Linked DNA regions of Homo sapiens: all the other regions are linked to region 3. Evidence: promoter capture Hi-C in human tissues and cell types (Jung and others, 2019). All regions are on one chromosome and are shown on one strand. The core of a region is centred on a gene start or on the middle of the fragment in contact, and the rest is flanking DNA. Distances in the headings are between cores, read along the strand shown. Region 1 holds the start of RAB40C (RAB40C, member RAS oncogene family). Region 2 overlaps RAB40C (RAB40C, member RAS oncogene family). Region 3 holds the start of LUC7L (LUC7 like).

Evidence for each region. The method cuts DNA at HindIII sites, captures the fragments that hold promoters and counts their contacts. A contact is called where the count stands out against the background at its distance.
Region 1: a contact is called between the fragment with the promoter of RAB40C here and the fragment with the promoter of LUC7L in region 3, in 1 of the 25 tissues and cell types used here (dorsolateral prefrontal cortex).
Region 2: a fragment that was not itself captured here is called in contact with the fragment with the promoter of LUC7L in region 3 in 1 of the 25 tissues and cell types used here (dorsolateral prefrontal cortex).

The regions. Positions count from the first base shown.
Region 1 is chr16:588,162-591,623 of GRCh38, forward strand. RAB40C (RAB40C, member RAS oncogene family) reads left to right here and starts at 1,905. Exons shown (of 6, transcript NM_021168.5): 1 at 1,905-2,272. The coding sequence starts at 2,131. RefSeq lists enhancers at 226-425, 548-1,421 and silencers at 766-1,075, 1,396-1,455, 1,466-1,515, 1,586-1,705, 1,796-2,115. The HindIII fragment of the contact is 16,228 bases long and covers 1-3,462 here.
Region 2 is chr16:622,669-625,899 of GRCh38, forward strand. It overlaps RAB40C (RAB40C, member RAS oncogene family), which reads left to right. Exons shown (of 6, transcript NM_021168.5): 4 at 2,764-2,841; 5 at 3,231. Among named protein-coding and RNA genes, the nearest start is that of WFIKKN1, 6.7 kb to the right of the region's middle. The HindIII fragment of the contact is 6,315 bases long and covers 1-3,231 here.
Region 3 is chr16:227,434-230,861 of GRCh38, forward strand. LUC7L (LUC7 like) reads right to left here and starts at 2,016. Exons shown (of 10, transcript NM_201412.3): 1 at 1,846-2,016. The coding sequence starts at 1,906. RefSeq lists a silencer at 1,630-1,859 and an enhancer at 1,692-2,388. The HindIII fragment of the contact is 19,974 bases long and covers 1-3,428 here.

The DNA of each region.
Region 1 (3,462 bases), core at 655-3,154, 360 kb after region 3:
ACCCCCCGCTTCCAGGCAGTCTCAGAAACCGAGGAGGAAACATCACATCTTTGGTGCTTCCCGTCCCTGGAGTGAGGGGCCTCAGGGACTTCACAGCCAGGGCTCAAGTCTGGGCACAATGACCTCTGAGCAGAAGAGGCTCTCCCTGACCCGCCAGGTTGTTTCCGGGTTAATGCCTGGGGAACTTGGCAAGGCGCCATCTCTACAAAAAATACAAAAGGTAGCCGGGCATGGTGGCGCCTGTAGTCCCAGCTACTCGGGAGGCTGAGGCTGGAGGATCGCTTGTGCCGGGGAGGTAGAGGCTGCAGTGAGCCGAGATCGCGCTACTGCACTGCAGCCTGGGCGACAAAGGGAGACCCTGTTTCAAAAAAGAAAAAACTGGTGCGTCGATGTGGTCGCCGCTTAGTCAGGCCATGTCTTCAGCTCTGGGGGACGGGAGGTCACTGGAGGTGTGGGGCTGCCCGTCCTGGCGTCCCTCTGTGTAAGCAGCACCTGCTCCCGGAGGCACAGCCCTGGTCGGGGCCCCTCTGGAGGAGGGTTCTTGCCGGGCTCTGCTCCTCGCCGGCGGGGCAGACGTGACGGGCTCCGCACCCGGTCTGGAGAGGGCTGCGCTGGGTCGGCGCTGACGTTACTGCTTTTACTTACGACTGTAACAGCGCTACTGAACGCAGAGCACGTATCACAAAGCTCACCCGTTCCGAGTGAGTAACTTCACCGAGAGAGGCAGGACCATCCCCACGACGGTAGGACCTTCTCGTCACCCCAGAAAGAACCACGTGCCCACTCAACCCCCGACCCCACGCCGGGGCCCGCGGACGCAGCCGCCTCGCTCGCCCACGCACCTGCGGCAGCCGGGCCCGGCAGGGACGAGGGCTCGGCGGCGCCCCCGGGAAGAGCGCGGTCCGGGCCCTGGGTCCCCGTCCAGGAGGCGCCGCTGCCGCAGTGAGCACGTCGGGCCGGGTCTTGAGCTCGCGCCGGCCGCGCTCCCCGCGTCCCGAGCTGTGGCGGCCGCGTCCCCGGGCGGAAGGCTCACGCTCGGTGACGCCGCGCTGTCCCAGAACCTCAGCGACTTTGCAGACTCACTGGTGACCCAACGGTGCGCCCCGCCGCCGCCGGGCGGAAGTCCCGCCCCTGCCCCGGAGAGGAAGTTCCGCCTCATCGAGCGCCGATTGGCCGCACCGCCTTAGAGAGGACGCGCCCGGGGCCACCCCGCCGCTCCCTCCGAGGGTTCTGCGGAAGCAGGCGGCACAGCCTGCGAGGGGCTTTCGTTTCCCGGACTCAGCCGCATCGCCTCGGCTCGGGCGCGCCTGCATCCTGCCGCCCGTCCGCGCGTTGAAGGGGCGGATACAAACAACGTGGACTTCCGAGCCCCTGATTGGCGAGCGTGTAGGAAAGGGGCGGGGTTAGCAGAGCCGTGATGGACATGCAAGCGACCCAATGGCGCCGGCGACGGGGCGGGCGAGGACAACGGCGTTGTGGGCCGGGGGCGGGGCGGCCGGCGGCTCTGGGATTTCTCTGGGAGGCAGCCGCAGGGAAGGGAATGATCTTGGTGAACTTATAATCGAACCAATGGTTCCGGGAAAGCAGGAGGCGAGTGGCCAATGGCGACGGCGATGAGGCAGGCGTCCGCTGTCTCCGCAACGCCGTGTGGGAAAGGCGGGGGAGGGGCGGTCATGACAGACGTGCAGACAGGCCAATGGCTGAGGGAAGGAGGGCGGCGGGCGACCTCTGGTGACTACGGGAAGGCAGGGCGGGGTGGTGAAGAGGCGGTGCGACCGGAGGTCTGGCGGCGCCGTGTGGAACGCCGTGAGGGCGGGGAAGTCGTGACGGACGGGCGGGTGGGCCAATGGGCTCGGGAGGGCGGGCGAAGGGTGGCCAATGGCGGCGGCGCGGCCGGGGGTGGGGCGGCGCGGCGGCCCTGGTGGTGCGGGAAGCGGCGGGGCGGCGGCGAGGCTGAGGTGCGCCCGGGCGCGGGCGGGGCGGGGCCGGCGCTGGGCTTCGGGCGCGCCCACTCGGCCGCCGTGGGGCGGACGCAACGGGCGCAGGTGCGGGGCGCGGGCTCTCTCACGCCGCGGCCTCACCCGGCGGTGCTTCGGCAGGCGGCCGGCGCGGGGCGCAGGCGGCGCGGCCATGGGCTCGCAGGGCAGTCCGGTGAAGAGCTACGACTACCTGCTCAAGTTCCTGCTGGTGGGCGACAGCGACGTGGGCAAGGGCGAGATCCTGGAGAGCCTGCAGGACGGCGCGGCAGAGTCCCCGTACGCCTACAGTAACGGTAAGGCCCGGCCCGCGGCGCGCGCTGCTACGCGGGGCCCGAGCCCGGCGAGCTGGGCACGGAGCTCGCCCTCGGCCCGGCCCTTCCAAGCGCCGCCGAACGTTCCCAGGAACGCCTTTGCCTGGCTTCCAGACTCGGTAGCTCGGTGGCTGCGGGGTGCCCGTGCTCCAGTCCCGAGGTGACGCCGGGGGGCAGGAGGACGGACCAGAGGGACGCGCCCAGCGGGGACGGTGCCATGGACCCGGGGTCTGGGGGACGGTGTCACGGGTCCGGGATCTCAGGGGAAGGTGTCATGGGTCCGGGATCTGGAGCCCAGGGGAAGGTGTCATGGGTCCTAGAGAAGGTGTCATGGGCCTGGGGAAGGTGTCATGGGTCTAGGATCATCTGGGGTCCGAGGGAAGGTGTCATGGGCTCGGGGGAAGGTGTCGTGGGCCGGAGGGAAGGTGTCATGGGTGCAGGATCTGGGGTCTGGGAGAAGGTGTCATAGGTCCGAGGGAAGGTGTCATGGGTCCAGGATCTGGGGTCCGGGGAAAGATGTCATGGTCCCGGTAGAAGGCGTCATGGGCCAAAAGGAAGGTGTCATGGGTCTAGGATCATCTGGGGTCCGAGGAAAGGTGTCATAGATCTGGGGGAAGGCATCATGGTCCTAAGGGAAGCTGTCATGGGTCTGGGATCATCTGGGGTCCGAGGGAAGGTGTCATAGATCTGGGGAAAGGTGTCATGGGTCTGGGATCTCAGGGGAAGGTGTCATGGGCCTAAGGGAAGGTGTCATGGTCTGGGATCTCAGGGGAAGGTGTCATGGGTCTAGGATCATCTGGGGTCTGAGGGAAGGTGTCATAGATCTGGGGGAAGGCATCATGGTCCTAAGGGAAGGTGTCATGGGTCTGGGATCATCTGGGGTCCGAGGGAAGGTGTTATAGATCTGGGGAAAGGTGTCATGGGCCCGGGGAAGGTGTCACGGACCCAGGTCTGGTGGCAGGTGCTGCTGGGCTGCTCTTGGGACCCTGTCTCGAGCGTGCACAGATGACAGGTCCTTATAGGCACGCTGTTCCCCTGAGGTATTTGCTTACTGCTGAGGGAGTCAACGCTTTGTGCTAGAAGAAAATACCTCTGTAATGAGTTACTGAACATTTGTTTTGTTTTGTTTTCTTTTCTTTTCTTTCTTTTTTTTTTTTTTGAGACGGAGTCTC
Region 2 (3,231 bases), core at 710-3,209, 400 kb after region 3:
CTAATTTTTGTATTTTTAGTAGAGACGGGGTTTCACCATGTTGGCCAGGATGGTCTCCATCTCTTGACCTCGTGATCCGCCTGCCTCGGCCTCCCAAAGTGCTGGGATCGCAGGCGTGAGCCACGGCGCCTGGCCGAAGTCGCTAGTTTTTTAAAAATCAGATCAGTTTTAGAAAACAGAAGGCAGTGGAAGAGTCTGTTTGTCCCGTGCTCTGCCCCTTGAGACACGCAGCTGAGGGTGCTTAGGGTGCCGTTCGTTAGGCGGCTGCTGGTCACCGAGAGTCTCCTTTTGGTTTCTCACTCCGTGGTCATTTGGGTCCCTGCGGCCTCACTGTGACCCACGCCGGAGCAAGCCTCCGGGTCCTCCTGTGCCATCGCCCCTGCCCGTAACCCCTACTCCTCAGACATGGCCATCCCAGGAAGTGGGGGCCCGCTCAGGGCAGCAGCCGGGAGGTGTGGCCAGGGCCCCCCGCGTCACAGCACACTTGGAGCCTGAGGCAGCCCATCAGCCGGGAGGCGGGCCTTCTGCTCTCTTTCTAGAGTTTTCAGTGTCATGCGAATAGGGGTGTTTGCCACAGAAAACAGGTCAGCATCAAAAGTTACCCCTCTCCAGCCTTTTAGCATTTGTTTTATGTCCATATAAACTTCTTCAGTGTAATGTGTTGTGTGTTCATACTTTTATTTTTTAAAAATCATGCTGGGCCGGGCGCGGTGGCTCACGCCTGTCATCCCAGCACTTTGGGAGGCCGAGGTGGGCAGATCGGGAGGTCAGGAGATCAAGACCATCCTGGCTAACACGGTGAAACCCTGTCTCTACTAAAAAAAAATACAAAAAAATTAGCCGGGCATGGTGGCGGGCGCCTGTAGTCCCAGCTACTCAGGAGACTGAGGCAGGAGAATGGCGTGAACCCGGAAGCGGAGATCGTGCGGCTGCACTCCAGCCTGGGCGACAGAGTGAGACTCCGTCTCAAAAAAAAAAAAAAAAGAAATCATGCTGGGCTGGGCACAGTGGCTCACACCTCTGATCCCAGCACTTTAGGAAGTTGAGGCAGGAGGATCACTTGAGGCCAGGGGTTCAAGACCAGCCTGGGCAACATAGCAAGATCCCATCTCTAAAAAATGTTTAAAAAAACTTAGCCAGATGTGGTGGTTCACACCTGTATTCCCAGCCACTCAGGAAGCTGAGGCTCAGAATATCAGGCTGCAGTGAGCCATGATCGTGCCACTGCATGAACCCCAGCCTGGCTGACAGAGTGAGACCCTGTTTCAAAAAAAAAGAAAATGCCATCCGCAGTGCTGGGACCTGCGTTCTTACCTCACCTGGGTTGCACATCTCTCCTTGGCCAGCATGCACGCTTTTACATGCACTGCTGCTGTCTTCAGCATCTGCACGGTACATTTCACTGCCGCTTACTCAGCTGTCCCCTGAGGCTGGACATTTAATTTGTGTCTGGCTTGTCGTTGTTATCAGCGCCACTGTGACACACATCCTCAGTTACTTCTGAGTTGTGGGCTTGCCATGCGGGAGGTTGCCATGCGGGAGGTTGCCACTAGGGAGAGTGGGCTGTGTTGTACGCTTTGGTGGCCCACTCCCCAGTCTCTCCACCTCCCCCAGCAGCAAATGAGCCAGCCCCAGTCCCTGTGCCCCAACCTCCAGGGTTAACCCCTGGGTGTGCATTTGTTTATTCTGAATCTTATCATTTATCGCCCACCAGACTGACTTGGCCATCTCTGGCCTCGAAGGGTCTCCCTCAGCGAGAGGTGTCCTTCCTGAGCTGTCGCTCCATCCTGAGCAAGGCCTTCGCCCTGGGAGCTTAGTAATGTCAACCTTGTTCTAAACAGGACCTGGGGCTACACTTCAGTCTTCCAGATATCGAAAGATGGTTCTAAGAGGCTCTAAAAACCCTAATTTTCAGATGGACAGTGCCCTCTTCTTTCAGCCTCAGCCTCTTGTGTGATAGGCTCTTCCATTACGTGAAGGTTTTGTCAGCCTAGGAGTAGGGTGGATCACAGCTCATTGGCTGGATCTGGTTGCAGAATTGTAGGGTGGGAGTGGACGTTGGGGAGAGGCGGGCATAGGGGAATGGGCCTGTGATGTCACCGTTTCGCCCGACAGGGCTCTGAGTGTGAGCAGTGTGCTCCCCTGTGCTGCTGGAGAGCCATGACTGTCACTGCCGAGATATTTAGGGCAGGTGGAAACAGCCCAGAGCTGAGCTCCAAGTAATTGGTCTCTAAGGGATGTGGCAAAAAGTCCCCGTGGCAAAACCTGCTCTGCCTGGCTGGGGGAGCTTCACAGAAACTGTCCTGGAGGGACTGGCATTCTGCTCTGCAAGTTTTAGGTTGGAAAACTCAGAAATGCCCCCACTCAGCTCTGTCCCAGGTACTCCCGGGGGGATTCACTGATGGACTGGCCGAGAGGACACTTAGCTTCCACAGCTGCACGTCCCCCGGCTGCCAGAACCCCGCATCTGCCTGCCCAGGAAACTTCCACAGGCTGATGGCTCCAGGGGAGGGAGGGGAAGCGGCATTTCTGACACCATGGAAGGCGCCCACCCCCCTGCTGCAGTCCTGCCAGGTGAGGGCAGGGGTGAGGGGCAGGGCTGCACCAGCTCTGCCTGGAGGGCATGGCTCATCTGCCCATCCGCCAAGTAATAAGCATCCTTGGCCCTGCCCGGGAACTGAGGCCCCTGCACCTGAGCGTCCCTGGGCCTGGGCTGGCCATGCGTGTCAGTGACCCCTGATGACCCCCAAGTCTCTGTTGCAGGGGATCCTCTTGGTGTATGACATCACCAACCGCTGGTCCTTTGACGGCATCGACCGCTGGATCAAGGAGATCGATGAGGTAGGCCTGGGTCCGGGGAGCCCTCCCGGGGAAGGCAGGCTGGATGGAGGTACCTGGGCCCCGGGTAGGCTCTGGATTCCCGCCTGCCGCCCCTCCTGTGGCCCCGGCTCTGCACCCTGCACTGTCCCACGGCCTACGCCTGGGCATGCTGGTCACTGTGCACACGACAGTCGGGCGTGGAGCCCAGCAAGACCAGGAGCTACGGGGCCACCCGGAAGGGCTGCACTGTAGGGCCTGAGCCCTGGGGTCTGCCCACCTTGACCTCCGCCCACCTTGACCTCCCACGGCCCTCACCCCATCATAGTCCAGACAATGAGGGCGGGCCCTGCTGCGGCTGAGGGGTGGGTGGCACCCTGCGTTTGTGCGTCTGCTGAGTTCTGTGCCCCCAGC
Region 3 (3,428 bases), core at 766-3,265:
CATTTCTGTGTTCTCCCCATCAAATGCAATGAAAAGCTGATCTAAAGATATTTACAACTGGAGTGGAATACACATTTTTTTGAGGCTAGTTATATCATGGAGAATCACACTTAATGAGATCTGACTCCATCACTGTACCAAAGAAGTCAAGGAGTCAGACGTAAACAGCTGAGCACCAAAAGGCCATTGGCTCCACATATACATGTGGCAATGAGACTGCAAAACCCAAGCTAATCAGAGGTCCATGAACCACCAAGGGTGACTTATAGAGCTGGTAATTTCCACCAACAAAAGCTACTTATTAATCTAATCTTTTTGTTATGAACAAATGCAGAGGCAGTATTTTGCCCAAAATTGAATGAAGAAGAAAGCTTTCAAACTCTATCGAAGACTGTTAAATAATCTAGATCTATTCTTCCTACGTCCCTTTCGTTCCCACCCTTAAAAAAGAGAGTTGCTACCTGGGAGTCACTTTTAACAAGACAATACCAAAAAAAGCAAAAAAGGAACTAGGTTAGTCAATACACACTGTGAGCTCCAACACATACTGTACCCATCTGCATTCTTCAAGACCTCAGCTGCAGAATTTTATGCCCGCTGTTGAAAAGTGTTAAAGGAAAAGTTTTCTTGCCCACACCTGCAGTAAGGAAGTCGGGGGAATGATACATAAAAGTAAAGGTAAAGTGGTATGTGACAAATTTTAAAGCTAGTCTGTGTATACAACACAGAGCTGTGCAACGCTAGAGGAGGAATATATTTTAGGATTTGCAAGCATCCAGGATTAATGTAGTGTCTTTTTATTGAAAATGTTTTCTTTCTAAACTACACTTTTAAAGTTACTTGTGAAAAAAAGCAAACACTTTTTTGTTATAACAGCTTAGAAATTGGTTGTGACTCACGGCTCGATGAACATGAGGCTTTCTGCAACTCCCTTGCAGATTGATGTAGGCAGGCAAAGATACACTGAACCTTTATAAATAAAATAGAGGGGCCACAATTGTTCAGTTTGTATGAAATAAAAATATGGGAAGCAATTCAAAAGCAACTCAATATACAAAGAAAGCTAAAAAGCACTTATTCACCTATGAAATAAAGTGCAAATAATCTGCACAGCCCTGAGAATGTGCCAGTGTGAACTTACAACTTCATTACTCAGCAGAAAAGAAAACACAAACCACAGCAGGTATATAGTTTTGCAAAGATGCAACCGCTTTCTCCTGTGACAACCATCATGATCTTGAGCTCCTCCCTACACAGTACAACCTACCTAACGACTGTCAAGCGCTGGCTACACAGAGGCTCTCCTGTGTGCTGGGGGGAAGGGGGCAGCTGGAAAAGTACTTGGCAGAAACCCACGTTAGAAAAGCTCAGTTTACGGTTCCCCTTGCAATGGTACAGAACCAGAGCGGGCCAGGTTTTCGAGGCCCATCCGGCTCCCTCGGGTGTAGCTTCTTCCCAAGGAGCCTCGGAAGAGTTCTGCCACCCGGCTGCCAGCGACCTGGAGCCCACGCTGATTCCAGCCCTCCGCCGACTCCACAGTTCGCGGAGGGGCACGGAGCCGCGGCGCCCGCCGGGGAGGAAGTAGCAGGACGGTACATAGGAAGGAGGCTGAAGCCCCATCCATGGCGCAGACTCCGAGAGAGGAGCCCGACCTGGACCCACGGCCGCCTCAGAGACGCACCGGCTTAGACAAAGGCCCGGCGCCTGCGGTCGGAGCGCGGGGGAGGAGGAGCGATGCCCCGCGCAGGCGCAGGCGCAGACGATCGCGGCCCCCGCCTCAGGCCGCCCGGCGGCCTCGCCTCACTCCCACCCCAGACCCTCGCCTGGTTGGCCGCTCTGACTCACCGTCCCGAGCCGTGCCCATGAGCTGGTCCAGCAGGGCCCGCATCTGCGCCTGGGCGGACATGGTAGCCGGCGGAGGCGACGGGGTCGGCCGCGACGACTTCTCTCAGGCAGGCGGTGGCAGCGGCGTCGACAAACGATGGTCGCGTCGGCCTCGAGCCCACTCGGCTCTTTCCCGCCGCGGGGGACGCCGGGAGGAAGTACGACGGCGCCGGCGCACGCCCTGCTGGGAAATGTAGTTTCTGGGGTGGGTGCTTAGGGAGGCTGAGGCTCTGAGTGGTCGCAAGTTGTCCAACGGCGGAACCAAAATCCCAACCCTGATTTTACTCTAGACCCCCAGGACCTCAAACGAGTCTCTACGGAGGGTAAACTACAATAAAATGAAATACAGTCAATCAAAAACAAGATGAATCCGTGCTTTTTCTAAGCTAGCCATGAAACCGTGAGCATATTATTTAGCTCCCCGACGCTCGTTTTTTTAAATCTGTGAAATGAGGGTTCTAAAGGTGCCCCTCATATGATTTTTGTGAAAGTTAAATAAAGCATGGAATTTTATTTATTTATTTATTTATTTATTTAGAGCGAGGGTCTTGCTCCGTCGCCCAGGCTGGAATGCAGTGGCGCGATTACCGCTCACTGCAGCCTCGACCTCCCCGGCTCCTTATCCTCCCGCCTCAGCCCGGCAAAGTATTGGGATTACTGGTGTGAACCACCACGTTTGGCCATCAGTCATGGCATTAATATTAGGTTCTATGATTACAACCTCGTGGTCGTCCTTTTGTGAGCTCATGGTCTACTGTCCCAGGGACTAAAGAAAAGGCATATGTAAGCAGTTATTTTATGTGATAATAGAATTATAGCATGCACTTATGTGTGCATAGTCTGGCATATACTTCTATTATATTAAACCTCTATTATTTATTTATTTATTTTTGAGACGGAGTTTCGCCCAGGCTAGAGTGCAATGGCGCGATCTTGGCTCTCCGCAACCTCCGCCTCCTGGGTTCAAGCGATTCTCCTGCCTCAACCTCCCAAAGTGCTGGGATTACAGGCATGAGCCACCACGCCCGGTCTTTATTTTTTATTTGTTTATTTTTTTTTTGAGACGGAGTCTTGCTCTGTCACCCAGGCTGGAATGCTGTGGCGCGATCTCGGCTCACTGTAAGCTCCGCCTCCCGGGTTGAAGCGATTCTCCTGCCTCAGTCTCCCCAGTAGCTGGAATTTCAGGCGCCCGCCACCCCCTCCGGCTAATTTTTGAATGTTAAGTAGAGACGGGGTTTCACCATGCTGGCCAGGCTGGTCTCAAAGTCTTGACCTCAAGTAGCCAGCCACCATGCCCAGCTGATTTTTGTATTTTCGGTAGACACGGTGTTGTACCGTATTGGCCAGGCTGGTCTTGAACTTCTGACCTTGTGATCTGCCTGCCTCGGCCTCCCAAAGTGCTGAGATTACAGGCGTGAGCCACCGCGCCCTGCCGTATTTTATTTATTTTTGAGACGGAGTCTCCCTCTGTCGCCCAGCCTGGAGTGCAGTGGCGCGATCTCGGCTTCCTGCATCCTCTGACTCCTGGGTTCAAGCGATTCTCT